Linked DNA regions of Homo sapiens: all the other regions are linked to region 1. Evidence: promoter capture Hi-C in 16 types of primary human blood cells and fetal thymus (Javierre and others, 2016). All regions are on one chromosome and are shown on one strand. The core of a region is centred on a gene start or on the middle of the fragment in contact, and the rest is flanking DNA. Distances in the headings are between cores, read along the strand shown.

Region 1 (4,322 bases), core at 753-3,252:
CTGCGCCAGGGATGGCCGGGAAGCTGGGGCCGCAGCTCCCCCTCCCCCGGCCCTCGACAGCGCACCGGGAAACCCGGAAGGAAAGGGAAGGGAAGGGGGGCGCACGGTGTTTAGAGACGTCTCCCCCGGGGATACCCTCCAGCCGGGCGGATCTGCGCCCCTTCTCCCCCTCCGGCTCTCTGGGGCACTGATCGGGGAGGGAGCGGCTGGGCGGACCCGGGGCAGGGAGGAGCACGCAGGGACTGGAGGCTTCGGCCCTCGGGGAGGAAAGTTGGGCGGCGGCAGGCGGAGGGGGCTCCGGCCGGGCCAGGGCTGCCGGGCGCGGGGGCACTCGCTCACCTGCTGGTCCCCCGGCCGGGCCCCGGGGTGGGCGGCTGCTGCTTGGCGCGGACTCGGCTCGGCGCGGGGCTCGGGGCACTGGGCGCAGGCTCAGCGGCCCCGGGGGAGCGATCCCTGCATCCTACGGGCGCCGCCGCCGTCTCGGCTCCGCGGCTCTGTTCGGGCTCCCGGGCTGGGCAGGCGGCGCGGGCTCGGGCTGGGGGCGGGGTCGGGGGCGGGGTCGGGGCGGGCCCCGCCTGGGTTCGGCCTGGGGCTTGGGGCCCCGGGCTGGCTCCGCCCCAGAGCGACGCGCCCAGGGCTCCGCACGTGGTGCTCCGCCCGCTCGGAGGGGGGACACACCAGCGCCCGCCGGGGCGCACACTCCCACACTGACCCGGGGGCTCACAGCCACAGACAGCCGCACACGCGGCCGCGGACAGACAGACATAGGCGGGGGTACACACACGGCGACCCGGCGACGCTTCACCACAGATGGCCACCCACGCGGACGCGGACAGGCTCACATTAACAAACACTGGCATACACACCAGCACCCGCCAGAGTATACACACACACACACGCAACCTTGCTGACTTGGGAAGGCTACCAGACACCCACCCACCCACGTGGACACGGGCATACACTGACACTCATGCCGAGACAGACACACGCTGCCATAGGCATACCTGCACTGACACAGACACACACATGCACCCTGAGACAGATACACACCCCCACACACCCACACAGACACAGACAGACACATCATTGACACACACTGACACTGAGGAAGACACTCTGACAAACTTAGACACCCACATGACTTAGACACACATCCACTGACACACTGACACAGAGACACACACACTCACTCGAACCACACTTTCCTGGAGACACACTTAGTGATGCCACAGAAATCTGCACAATGGTACACATCTACCTGAACACACGGACGCACATGCTGACAGAACCAAACACACACCCAGACCCAGAAGCAAGCAGGCAACCAACACAGAGACACCCACACACGCGCGCGCGCAAACACACACACACACATACATATATATACATGTATATACCTCTTTATATATATACTTCCACCCTCTTGAGCCACATACAACCTTCACCTTGACACATGCAGAGCCTGGAGTCACATACTTACACACCCACTGTTTCTCACTCAGAGACATGGTCACAGGCACACACACACGGAGACATACGCTGACAAACAGTTGCTCCCATGCCCATGCCCAGGACCTATGGGGACACACTTCTTGTTTAAACAAAACAGGCCATCAGGGCAACCCGCTTGGGTCCCCTTCCACGCTGTGGAAGCTTTGTTCTTTCCCTCTTCACAATAAATCTTGCGCTTCTAAAAACAAAAACAAAAACAAAACAAAACAACAACAAAAAACAGGCCATCAGCTTTTGCCCACGAAAAAAGTACAGTCATTGGAAGGGATGGTACACTTTTCTGCCACATTTTCAGGGCTCCCAAAAGCAAGAACCGCTCTTAGAGAGCCAAATGGGTGCCAGGGTCTCAGAGGGCACAGAGGTGCTGGGTTTGGGAGCCCAGAGGCTGGGACCTGCTCCTCCATGATGGGGATCTTGAAGAGGTGGGAGGGCAAAGAGGGGGGTGGGGGACAGCGTCCGTTTGCGACCTGGGTGTGGGGCTTCGTTGGACGCCTTAGGTACATACGGAGGGGCTGCTCTGCTTGCAGGAGGGGATCAGTAGGAAAGTCAGTCCACAGGAAAGTTCAGGACATGGGCCTCTCCGGCCCCGAGTTGAGTGGGGTGTCTGGGGTACAGACGGATGGACCACACAGGTCGGCTGCCAGCCTTTAGCGCCTGACGAGCCTCAGGTTGGCTAGCAGCTCCCACTATCGGCCAGAAGGGGAAGTGCAGGCAGTGTCAACGTTTCAACCCACGTGCAGCCGCCTTCCCAGAGTCACACCTACCAGGCAGGAGAGTACAGTAGCAGGAAGGTCCTACCTCCCCTAAGAACTTCCATCACGGGCTTCTCGGCCTCAGAATGAAGCTTCTACTTGCAAACTGACATTGGGTCAAGCAGGAGACAAGGCTAGGATAGAAGCTGCTGGGAGTAGGGGTGGATACCTGCCTCCCTTCCGTCCATATGTAGCAGAAGTGGGGTTTTCACTCTCCTGTTTAGTATTGGGCAACTGGATGTTGCCAGCAGGAGAGGTGGGCTGAGCCTGGTAAGTCTACATGCACCCTGAATTTAAACAGGGGGAGAGAAGCCCAGGGGATGGGGAACCAGAGCTCTGAACCTGTAGAAGTTCATCCATAAAAGCACACCTTGTGGTCCTAGAGAGGCCTCAGAGTGCAGAGACAGGCAACAGGTGTCTGGAGACAGGCACTTCCTACAAAGAGCCCTTGCCAAGATCTTGGCTACTCCCTTCTCTTTGCCAGACCCTATTTAAATTTTTTGTTTTGTTTTGTTTTGTTTTGTTTGAGACGGAGTCTTGCATTGCCTCCAGGGCTGAAGTGCAGTGGCGTGATCTCGGCTCACTGCAACCTCCGCCTCCCCAGTTCAAGCAATCCTCCTGCCTCAGCCTCCTGAGTCTCTGGGATTGCAGGTGCTCGTCACCATGCCCAGCTAATTTTTTGTATTTTTAGTAGAGACGGGGTTTCACCATGTTGGCCAGGCTGGTCTCGAACTCCTGACCTCGTGATTTACCCACCTCGGCCTCCCAAAGTGCTGGGATTACAGGCGTGAGCCACCATGTCTGGCCAACCCTATTTAATTAAAGCAATAACAGGAACATGTTGTCAGCTGTCAGAGATAAATGTTTTTAAAAACTAGTATGTCCTTTATTCGCCCCTCAGTTTCGCCCAGGGTTTGCCTTTACTTTGCCTCAGGTTCAAAGCTGGGTTAACCATATCATTACTCCTCTCTTGTGTTTTTGTTTTATTTCTTCCCCCATCATCACTCCACTGCCATCTCCTTCTCCACACAGGCACCCCTCTAGGAGCTAAAGTAGGTCTTTATGTGCACATCCTTGTAAAACAGGTAGTATTGTTGTTTGTGCATATGCATTTTCTCTTCTAACAGCCCAAAGCTTTTCTTTTTATGTTTTACTTCCATTGAACCTACATAATGGAAAACTGCACAAATCCTAAGTGTTCACTTGAAAGGGTTTTCTGTTGTTGAACACATCCGTGTGAGCAGCACAACACAGAAACCAAACGTTATCAGTACCACAGAAGACCTCTTTGTGCCCCTTTCTGTCACCACCGCTACACCCACCCAGAGTTAACTACTACAGTCACATCGAATTCCCCTTGCTAGTTTTGCCTGGTTTTGATATTTATTTAAACTGGAATTGTATAATAGGAGCTCTTTTGTGTCTGGCTTCTTTTGATCAGCTTTACGCTCATGAGAGTCACATGTTGCTGCTTGTTGTTGTAGTTCATTCATTCTTGTTGCTGTACAGCATCCTATTGTATGCATATACCAGACTTTACCCATTCTACTGCTGATGGGTGTTTGGGTAGTTTCTAGTTTGGGGTTCATGAGTAGCACACCTATGAACATTCTAGTACATAAATTTTGATGAACATATGTACCCATTTCTGCCAGGTACATATTTGGGAGTGGAATTGCTGAGTCATAGGATAATGTGTGTTCGCTTTTAGCAGATGTTGCCAGACAGTTTTCCACAGTGGTTCCACCAGTATTCACTCCACCAGCAGTGAATGCATGCATCCTTTAACACTTAATACTTTTGTCATTTTCATTTTATCTCCTTCAGTGGGTGTGCAGAGGTTTCATATTCTGGTTTTAATTGGCATTTCCCTGATGACTAATGAAATTGAGCACATTTTTTATGATTAATGGCTGTTGGTGTGTATGTGCTTTTCATTTATATAAATGGGTATCGTTCTAGATTTCCTTCTTTTCCTTATGTTTCTCCCTCAACACCCTGCTTTTGAGCTGTATCTGTGTTGTGGTGTAGGCAGCTGGCTCTTTGCTTCTGATAGCT
Region 2 (4,322 bases), core at 711-3,210, 610 kb before region 1:
CCAGAGAGCCTCCACAAGCGGAACTGCTCCTAAATGACAAGACCACCCAACTGGGGCTCCATTTGCCACATTAGAGCAATGGAGGCCCCCAGACTGTTGCACCCCTCTTCCTACCCACAGCTCCTTCCTGCACCACTGGGGGCCTTGCATGCTTGTGGAAAATTGGAGAAATGCCTGTTTGCCAAAGCTCCCTCCACTTCCCTCCTCCTCCCCCCACCATAGCTACCCTTTTAAGTCAGCCCTGGGAGGATAAACTTAAAGAAGAGGCCTGCATAGGCCCTGGAATGAACTCAGGACATGTGGGCACATACTTTTGGGGTCCCATGTGCCTGGAGGCGAGGCACGGGGCACATCATCTTGGCCCTGTGATCTCTTACTCTGTGGGAAAGAGTGCGGGGGACAGCCAGAGATGGGCCTCTCAAGCACACAGTCCAGGGCAGGCGGCCCTGGCTTCTCAGCTCTCAGGACAGAAAAGGTCCTGGAAAGGACAAAAGAGAGAGCCAGGCCCAACCAAGAGAAGTAGAAGTGGAAGTAGCCCAGGTGTGTGGGCAAGCATGCTAGCACTCATCTCTGGAAGTGGGTTTCAGGATGTAAGGCAAGCAAACTCAGTGTGGAGTAGAAAGTGGTTGGTTGTATCACCTGTGAGCAAAAGCCATGGTGTGCAAATGACAACAGTCAATGTGATGTTATGCTGCTGCCCTGGACAAATGCAGTCCTCTTTTCCATCTCAGTGATGCTGTCATCACCCCCCTGATTGCACACACAGGATACCTGGGAGTCATTCTTGGTGCCTGTTTCTTACCTCCCATTATCCACCAGCAAGTCTTATCAATTCTACTTTTTGGATCTATCTCCAATCCAGTTCCCTCTCTCTCATCCAATCTCCCTTCATCTCTTTCCTAACTTCTGTGCTAGTTTCCTAACTGAACTTCCTGATGCCTCTTGCCTCTCCTGTCTATTCTCATAGCAATCAGAATGATCTTAGTAAAACAGAGCTGACCATGACATGCCCCAGCTTAAGACCCTTGATGAACCTCCTACTGCCCTCAAAATAAAGTCCAAATTCCCTATTGTGGCCTACCAACCCACTTATGATCTGGCCCTAACCTATCAGTGTCATTCCTCCACCCTCACACTCTTTAAGTTCCACTCCTCCTGAATTTCATTCCGTCCTTCCCACATTTTTAAATATTTTGTAAAGATGGGGTCTCCCTATGTTGCCCAGGCTGGTCTCAAACTCCTGGCTTCAAGTGATCCTCGTGCCTCAGCCTCCCAAAGTGTTGGGATTACAGGTGTGAGCCACCACACACACGCTCTTATTTAGGTACTTTTTTGTTTTTTGTCATTCTACTAACTGTAGTACTGCATTGTGGTTTTAATTTCCACTTCTTTGATGACTAATGATGTTCAGTCTACTCCTTCTTTGAAATCTCTGCTTGGTTTTCATTTGTTCCAAGAAGTAATCGCTCCTTCTACAGACTAAGTTCCTGTCCTCCTTTGTAGTTCCATGACAACCAATATTTATCTCCACCTTGGCCTTAACCCACTAAAGTACAGTTGTTTTACTTTTACCTCCACACCCACCGCCATCATCACAAACACACACATACACGACTGTGCACTTCCTGAAGGCAGAAGCAGCATCATACTTCTTTGGTATCTTCAGCAATCAGCACAGACCTGAAACACAATCTTTACACAATAAATATGATGAGTGAATGAACAGTTGCTTAACAAATTAAAGAATGGATGAAGGTAGGTAGTTAGGTACAAGGTTTTGCAGATAGGCCTGGCTGTGTCAATTAAACCTTTCTTCATGGGTCCTCACACTTAGTAAGCTCACTTTTAAAAGGACAATGCTGAAGACACAAATGTTTACAATGACCACAGCGATGACGGGATCCGAGAGAAAGGCAAGGCGGAAGGGGTGAGGCCGGAAGCCGAAGTGCCGCAGGGAGTTAGCGGCGTCTCGGTTGCCATGGAGACCAGGAGCTCCAAAACGCGGAGGTCTTTAGCGTCCCGGACCAACGAGTGCCAGGGGACAATGTGGGCGCCAACTTCGCCACCAGCCGGGTCCAGCAGCCCCAGCCAGCCCACCTGGAAGTCCTCCTTGTATTCCTCCCTCGCCTACTCTGAGGCCTTCCACTACAGCTTCGCAGCCCGGCCCCGCCGCCTCACGCAGCTTGCGCTGGCGCAGCGTCCCGAGCCTCAGCTGCTTCGTCTGCGCCCCTCCTCGCTGCGCACCCAAGATATCTCGCACTTGCTCACCGGCGTCTTCCGCAACTTGTACTCAGCCGAGGTCATCGGCGACGAAGTGAGCGCAAGCTTGATCAAGGCCCGCGGCAGCGAGAATGAGCGCCACGAGGAGTTCGTGGACCAGCTGCAGCAGGTAACGTGGCGGTGGCGTCGCGTCTGCGGACGGTGCCGGGGTCTCAGCGCTCGGCACGCGTCAGCACCTGCCAGGTGCCAGGCGCTGTTCCAGGATCTGGGGCTGCAGTTGAGAAACAGCCCATCATGCCGAAGTGGGCCCGACATTCTAGTGGAAGGACGCTCTATCCATACACACACATGCGCAAATACCACACATACCACACAACGTGCGGCATATATCTGTAGCACCTGTCTATATTTCTCTAGACACATACGTTATATATTGCATATATCAATGAACGACTGCGGCAGACCGCTGAATAGTTGTTCCATGGAGAGGATAAAGCCAAAAGTCACCCGGCTTTGGGGTGCCTTTGTATCACAAACCACAATCTTGACTGGGCCATTCATGCGCAGATTTTAGGAAGCGTGTCTAGCCTCTAGAACAGCAACTCTGCTTCCTCATCTGTACAAGGAGAAAACCAGCTGACTCGCGGCCTCTGTGCTGAGTCGGCCTCTGCTGGCCACACTACTGAAGACTCCCTTAAACTTGTGGGCACTCCTCCCATACCCGATCCTTTACCCCGGTGTGCTTCCTGCCTCTCAGATCTTCTTCTTCTCCTTTCTGTTCTGTCCTCTACCTGCCCCTTAAGTGACATGCATCCCACGTCGTTAGCTTCAGTCATTCCTTCACTTAACACATTTGTTGAATGTCTGCTGGGTGTCATACTCTGTTCTAGGCAGTGGGGATTCAGCAGTGAATAAAAACGCCAGTGTTCGGGCACACCCACACTCACACACGCAACCTGTCCTCTGTAGCTTTCAACCTAACTGAGGTAGATAGACATTAACAAAATGAATACCTATACAGTATGTGAGATACTTACAGGACCAGTCTCGCCGCCTCCACGGGTTATAGGCTTCTTAAAGTGCAGCCAGAGCCCCTGGCTGGGATCCTGTACTCTGTGATTCGTGGGTCACCACATTCACTCTGCTAAGACTTCAGCCTACCCAGCCAGACCTTGCCCTTGAACTTCAGACTCACATCCCTGTCATTCACATGAGCCAGAATATATGGAGCATTATAAACCTATAAACCCCATGACCAGTCACCCAGTTCACTGGATTCTATCTTCTCAGTATCTGTCCCATAAGTAGCCACTATACCAGAGTCTGAATTGGCAAATAGTGATCCCTTTTTTTGAAGAAAAAAAGTAATACATATTACAAATTTTTTTTTTTGACAGAGTCTGGCTCTGTTGCCCAGGCTGGAGTGCAGTGATGTGATCACAGCTCACTGCAGCCTTAACATCAGGGGCTCAACTGATCCTCCCTCCTCAGCATCTGGAGTAGCTAGGACCACAGGTGTGCACCAGTATGCCCAGCTTATTTATTTATTTATTTATTTATTTGAGATGGAGTCTCACTCTGTCACCCAGGCTGGAGTGCATGGCGCAATCTCAGCTCACTGCAAGCTCCACCTCCCACATTCATGCCATTCTCCTGCCTCAGCCTTCTGAGTAGCTGGCGCCTGCCACCACACCTGGCTAATTTTTTTGTATTTTTAGTAGAGACAGGGTTTCACTGTGTTAGCCAGGATGGTCTCGATCTCCTGACCTCGTGATCTGCCCACCTTGGCCTCCCAAAGTGTTGGGATTACAGGCATGAGCCACCACATCTGGCCTAAATTTTTATTTTTTAAAAATTGTGAGATGGGGTCCCACTATGTTGCCCAGGCTGGTCTCAAATTTCTGGCCTCAATTGATCCTTCCACCTCAGCCTCTCCAGATGCCGGTATTACAGGTGTGAGCCACTGTGCCTGGCCCACATTATAAAAATCTTAATTTAGAAGCTGAAATTTAATTTAAACATTTGAAGTTTTAAAATTGCAGAAATTTCAGAATGCAGAAAAGTTTAAAGAGTGATCCCCTATAGAAATACAACTATGCGGC
Region 3 (4,322 bases), core at 994-3,493, 510 kb before region 1:
AGCCCGACACCTGTAAAGGGTCTGTGCTGAGGAGGATTAGTAAAAGAGGAAGGCCTCTATTTCCCGCACATCCCTGGGAACGGAATGTCTCGGTGTAAAGCCGACTATTGGTTCTATTTACTGAGATAGGAGAAAACCGCCCTGTGGCTGGAAGCGAAATATGCTGGCAGCAATACTGCTCTGTTACTCTTTGCTACACTGAGATGTCTGGGTAAAGAGAAACAAAAATCTAGCCTACATGCACATCTCAGCACAGTACCTTCCCTTGAACTTATTTATGATGCAGATTCCTTTACTCACATGTTTTCCTGCTGACCTTCTCCCCACCATCACCCTGTTCACCCCGTTTTGCCTGAAGAGGGCCTGCCCCTCCACACCTGTGGGTATTTCTCGCAAGGTGGAGACGAGAAACTGAGAAAAGAAATGACACAGAGACAAAGTATAGAGGAAGAAAAGTGGGCCCAGGGGACTGGTGCTCAGCAATTGAGGACCTACACCAGCACTGGTCTCTGAGTTCCCTCAGTATTTATTGATCACTATCTCTACTATCTTGGCAAGAGGGATGTGGCATTATATACCATTACTATAAGGTAATGGTGGGGAGGGGGTCAACAGGAAAAAATGTGAGCAAAGGACTCAGTGTCATAAGTAAGTTTAAGGAAAGGTGCTGTGCCTGGATGTGCACATAGGCCAGATTTATGTTTGACTTTACACAAACATCTCAGTGCAGTAAAGAGCAGTATTGCCGCCAGCATGTCTCACCTGCAGCCATAAGGCGGTTTTCTCCTATCTCAGTAAATAGAATGTATGGTTGGGTTTTACACCCAAGACATTCCATTCCCAGGGACAAGCAGGAGACAGATGCTTTCCTCTTATCTCAACTGCAAAGAGGCCTTCCTCTTTTACTAATACTCCTCAGCACCGACCCTTTACGGGTGTCTGCAAAGAGGCCTTCCTCTTTTACTAATACTCCTCAGCACAGACCCTTTACGGGTGTCGGGCTGGGGGACTGTAAGGTCTTTCCCTTCCCACTAGGCCATATCTCAGACAATCTCAGTGGGGGGAAACCTGGACAATACCCAGGCTTTCTTGGGCAGAGGTCCCTGCGGCCTTTCGCAGTGCACTGTGTACCTGGTTAATCGAGAATGGAGAATGGCGATGACTTTTACCAAGCATACTGCCTGCAAACAAATGGTTAACAAGCCACATCCTGCACAGCCCTAAATCCCTCAAACCTTGATTCAATACAGCACATGTTTCTGTGAGCACAGGGTTGGGGCTAAGGCTACAGATTAACAGCATCTCAAGGCAGAAAAATTTTTCTTAGTACAGATCAAAATGGAGTTTCTTCTGTCTTCCTTTTCTACACAGACACAGTAACAGTCTGATCTCTCTTCCTTTCCCCCACACTGCCGCACTCCCCTTGCCGAGATAGTGAAAATAGTAATCAATAAATACTGAGGGAACTCGGAGACCGATGCCGGTCACCTGGGCCCACTCTACACTTTGTCTCTGCGTCTTATTTCTTTTCTCAGTCTCTCCTCCCATCTGACGAGAAATACCCACAGGTGTGAAGGGGCAGGACCCCTTCAAAGGTCAAGGCCATGGAGGTTCCCCCAGTGAAAATTCGGGGCGGGGAGGTGAGGAGAGCTCTGGACGAACGGAAGAACGGGGAAGGCCCAGCGCAGGGCCTGAGTGGTTCGCTCACCGACACAGATGTCCCCCAGCTGTTCCGGCCTCAGATTCACGTCCTTGAGAACCGCGGTCATGACTGCCGAGAGAAGCTCGTCGGGGGTGGTGTCCTGCAGCAGAAAGAGCAGCCGCAGTGACCCCCACTCCCCCATGCCCACCCCAGGGAGACAAAGCGACCACAGCTGGGTGCGGAGCTGCCTCCGGCGTCCAGGATAACCAAACATACGAACCGGACCCCAGCCCGCGCCGGCGTCTTCCCACACTCGGCGCCCAGACCCTCGGGCCTCACCTTGAAGCCGCCGCGGCCCGCCCGGCAGATGGCCGTGCGCCGCCCGTGCACCACCACCACGTCCGCGGCCGAGGCCTGCGGGGCACCGCTCAGGCAAGGCGCGGCCTGCGGCATCCAGCCGGAATCGGCCGGACCCCTCAGGTGGCCCAGCACTACCTGCAGCCTCTGCATTGCGCAGGTCAACCCTGCAGACCAGCCACCAGTCCGGGAACTGACCGCGGAGTTAACAGACAGCCGTCCGCACACGCGCAGAACCACATCTCAGCCTCCAAGGCCTCAACTCCGCCCACAGCTCTGCGAACAGACGCGAGCGACCCTCCAAAAGTCCCGTCCACCTCCAGCCTCAGCCAACCACAAGGAGAGTCGGCCTGGGAACCCGCCCCTCCCCGCCACCGCCTACCAAGCCCTCTATAGGAGGGCCCACAGGCACCGCCCAGCCGAGCTTTCCACTCAATGCCCCGCCTACCTTGGCCTACCGCAGCCAACCAGAAGGTGTATCTTTACGAATCCCCGCCCAGAAATGCAGACCGGAAGTCTTTCCACCTTTTGTAGCCAAACCCGAGACCTGACCCCCAAATCCCTGTCTCCTGCCCGCAGCCAAACGGAAGGCTGGGCAGCCAGGACCGCTTACTGCTTGGGGGCTGGAGATGGAAGCCGAGGCTCTAATTCCTCTACCCACTTCCTAGGAGGCTCTGCTATCCCTCCGGTCCCAGTACCCGAGCTGGGGGACCTAAATACTTCCGAGACGCCCGAGTCCTGCTCCGACGTGGTTGGGCTTTCCCATTCTTTCGAGAAGACAGGGAATTTGGGCTTCCGGGCTGGCCGGGAGAACAGATTTTACAGACATGCGGGGTGTGACAAGCTCTCTAACTGGAGAATGAACATTTCACACTTTTACCAGTTTTACACCCAATTGGAATGATTTTATTAGTGCCCATTTCCCGTGCTAGGCTGGGGTCTCCACCAAGGCAGAGAGGTACCATGTATCCGGGGAGCCTGCGACACCCTTGACACTTAGTAGATGATCAATAAGTACTTGTCGAATGAGTAAATGAATGAACCAGGGCTCCCCAGGTCAGGACTGTGTCCCTAAACCTAAAGGGCAAGGCCACGTGCCCCCTTGACTCCCAATAGCAGGGCCATGTCTTCACCTGAGACCCTGGAGAGTAGTGCTGGGCTTTCCACAGACACCAAAGGACAGGGTGCCTTGTGCTCCCCAACCTAGTGTCATGACGTCCCCAACCATTTCGAGGGCAGGGCCACGGCATGCCTCAGGCTCCAGAAGGCAGCTGTCCGTTTCCCACTCCCACCTCGGGGAGCACAGCAGGGGTCTTCCCATACCCCTACTGGCAGGATTGCGTGTTCCCCAGAGACAGTGGAGGGCAGAGCTGGTGCCTTCCCACTTGTCCCCTCCTCGCCATCCTCGAGGGCAGGACCGTATGAACCCCTCAGATTCCTCCGTGGAAGAACTGTGGCTCCACCAGATCCCAAAAAGCAAGGCCCGTTTCCTACAACCCCCGAAGGAGGGTCGTCCTCACTCCGCCGCCAACCTACTAGCACCATCACCAGACCCTCGAGGGCGGTGCCGTGGACCTCTCCAGATCTCAAAAGGCAGATTCCTACTTCTTACGCCCCCCACATCACCCGCCTCGAGACCTCAAGGGTAGAGGTGGGCACCCCCGCCTCCGCACTTTTGCTCGGGGCTCCAGATTGTAGGGCAGGGCGGCGCTTCTCGGAAAGCGAAAGCCGGCGGGGCGGGGCGGGTGCCGCAGGAGAAAGAGGAAGCGCTGGCAGACAATGCGACCCGACCGCGCTGAGGCTCCAGGACCGCCCGCCATGGCTGCAGGAGGTCCCGGCGCGGGGTCTGCGGCCCCGGTCTCCTCCACATCCTCCCTTCCCCTGGCTGCTCTCAACATGCGAGTGCGGCGCCGCCTGTCTCTGTTCTTGAACGTGCGGACACAGGTGGCGGCCGACTGGACCGCGCTGGCGGAGGAGATGGACTTTGAGTACTTGGAGATCCGGCAACTGGAGACACAAGCGGACCCCACTGGCAGGCTGCTGGACGCCTGGCAGGGACGCCCTGGCGCCTCTGTAGGCCGACTGCTCGAGCTGCTTACCAAGCTGGGCCGCGACGACGTGCTGCTGGAGCTGGGACCCAGCATTGGTGAGGACGTCCCCTTCCTGGCCTCGTACCTGGGGGGTGAGGAGGCTGACTTTCCGCGGCCTCAGCATCCTGTCTCCCATGGAGAGACCCCATTTCCTGCCTCGGGGGCCCGAAGAAGCCTGCAGAGGGAGAACCATGCGGGTCCCGTTCCTTCTTAATAACCGGTCGCGGTTATTA

What was found. Contacts are between HindIII fragments. The CHiCAGO score rates a contact against its expected background, and 5 or more counts as called.
Region 2: the fragment with the promoter of DLEC1 here is called in contact with a fragment that was not itself captured in region 1 in 1 of 17 cell types (fetal thymus); the score reaches 5.3 in fetal thymus.
Region 3: the fragment with the promoter of ACAA1 here is called in contact with a fragment that was not itself captured in region 1 in 2 of 17 cell types (fetal thymus and activated CD4 T cells); the score reaches 5.8 in fetal thymus.

What each region holds. Positions count from the first base shown.
Region 1 is chr3:38,649,192-38,653,513 of GRCh38, forward strand. SCN5A (sodium voltage-gated channel alpha subunit 5) reads right to left here and starts at 496. Exons shown (of 28, transcript NM_000335.5): 1 at 340-496. RefSeq lists a silencer at 455-614. The HindIII fragment of the contact is 703 bases long and covers 1,652-2,354 here.
Region 2 is chr3:38,037,248-38,041,569 of GRCh38, forward strand. DLEC1 (DLEC1 cilia and flagella associated protein) reads left to right here and starts at 1,961. Exons shown (of 37, transcript NM_007335.4): 1 at 1,961-2,389. The coding sequence starts at 1,979. RefSeq lists enhancers at 2,026-2,235, 2,526-2,755. The HindIII fragment of the contact is 3,706 bases long and covers 1-2,323 here.
Region 3 is chr3:38,134,884-38,139,205 of GRCh38, forward strand. It overlaps ACAA1 (acetyl-CoA acyltransferase 1), which reads right to left and starts at 2,244. Exons shown (of 12, transcript NM_001607.4): 1 at 1,982-2,244; 2 at 1,709-1,802. The coding sequence starts at 2,152. It overlaps MYD88 (MYD88 innate immune signal transduction adaptor), which reads left to right and starts at 3,778. Exons shown (of 5, transcript NM_002468.5): 1 at 3,778-4,145. The coding sequence starts at 3,818. RefSeq lists enhancers at 3,359-4,302, 3,462-3,871. The HindIII fragment of the contact is 10,893 bases long and covers 1-4,322 here.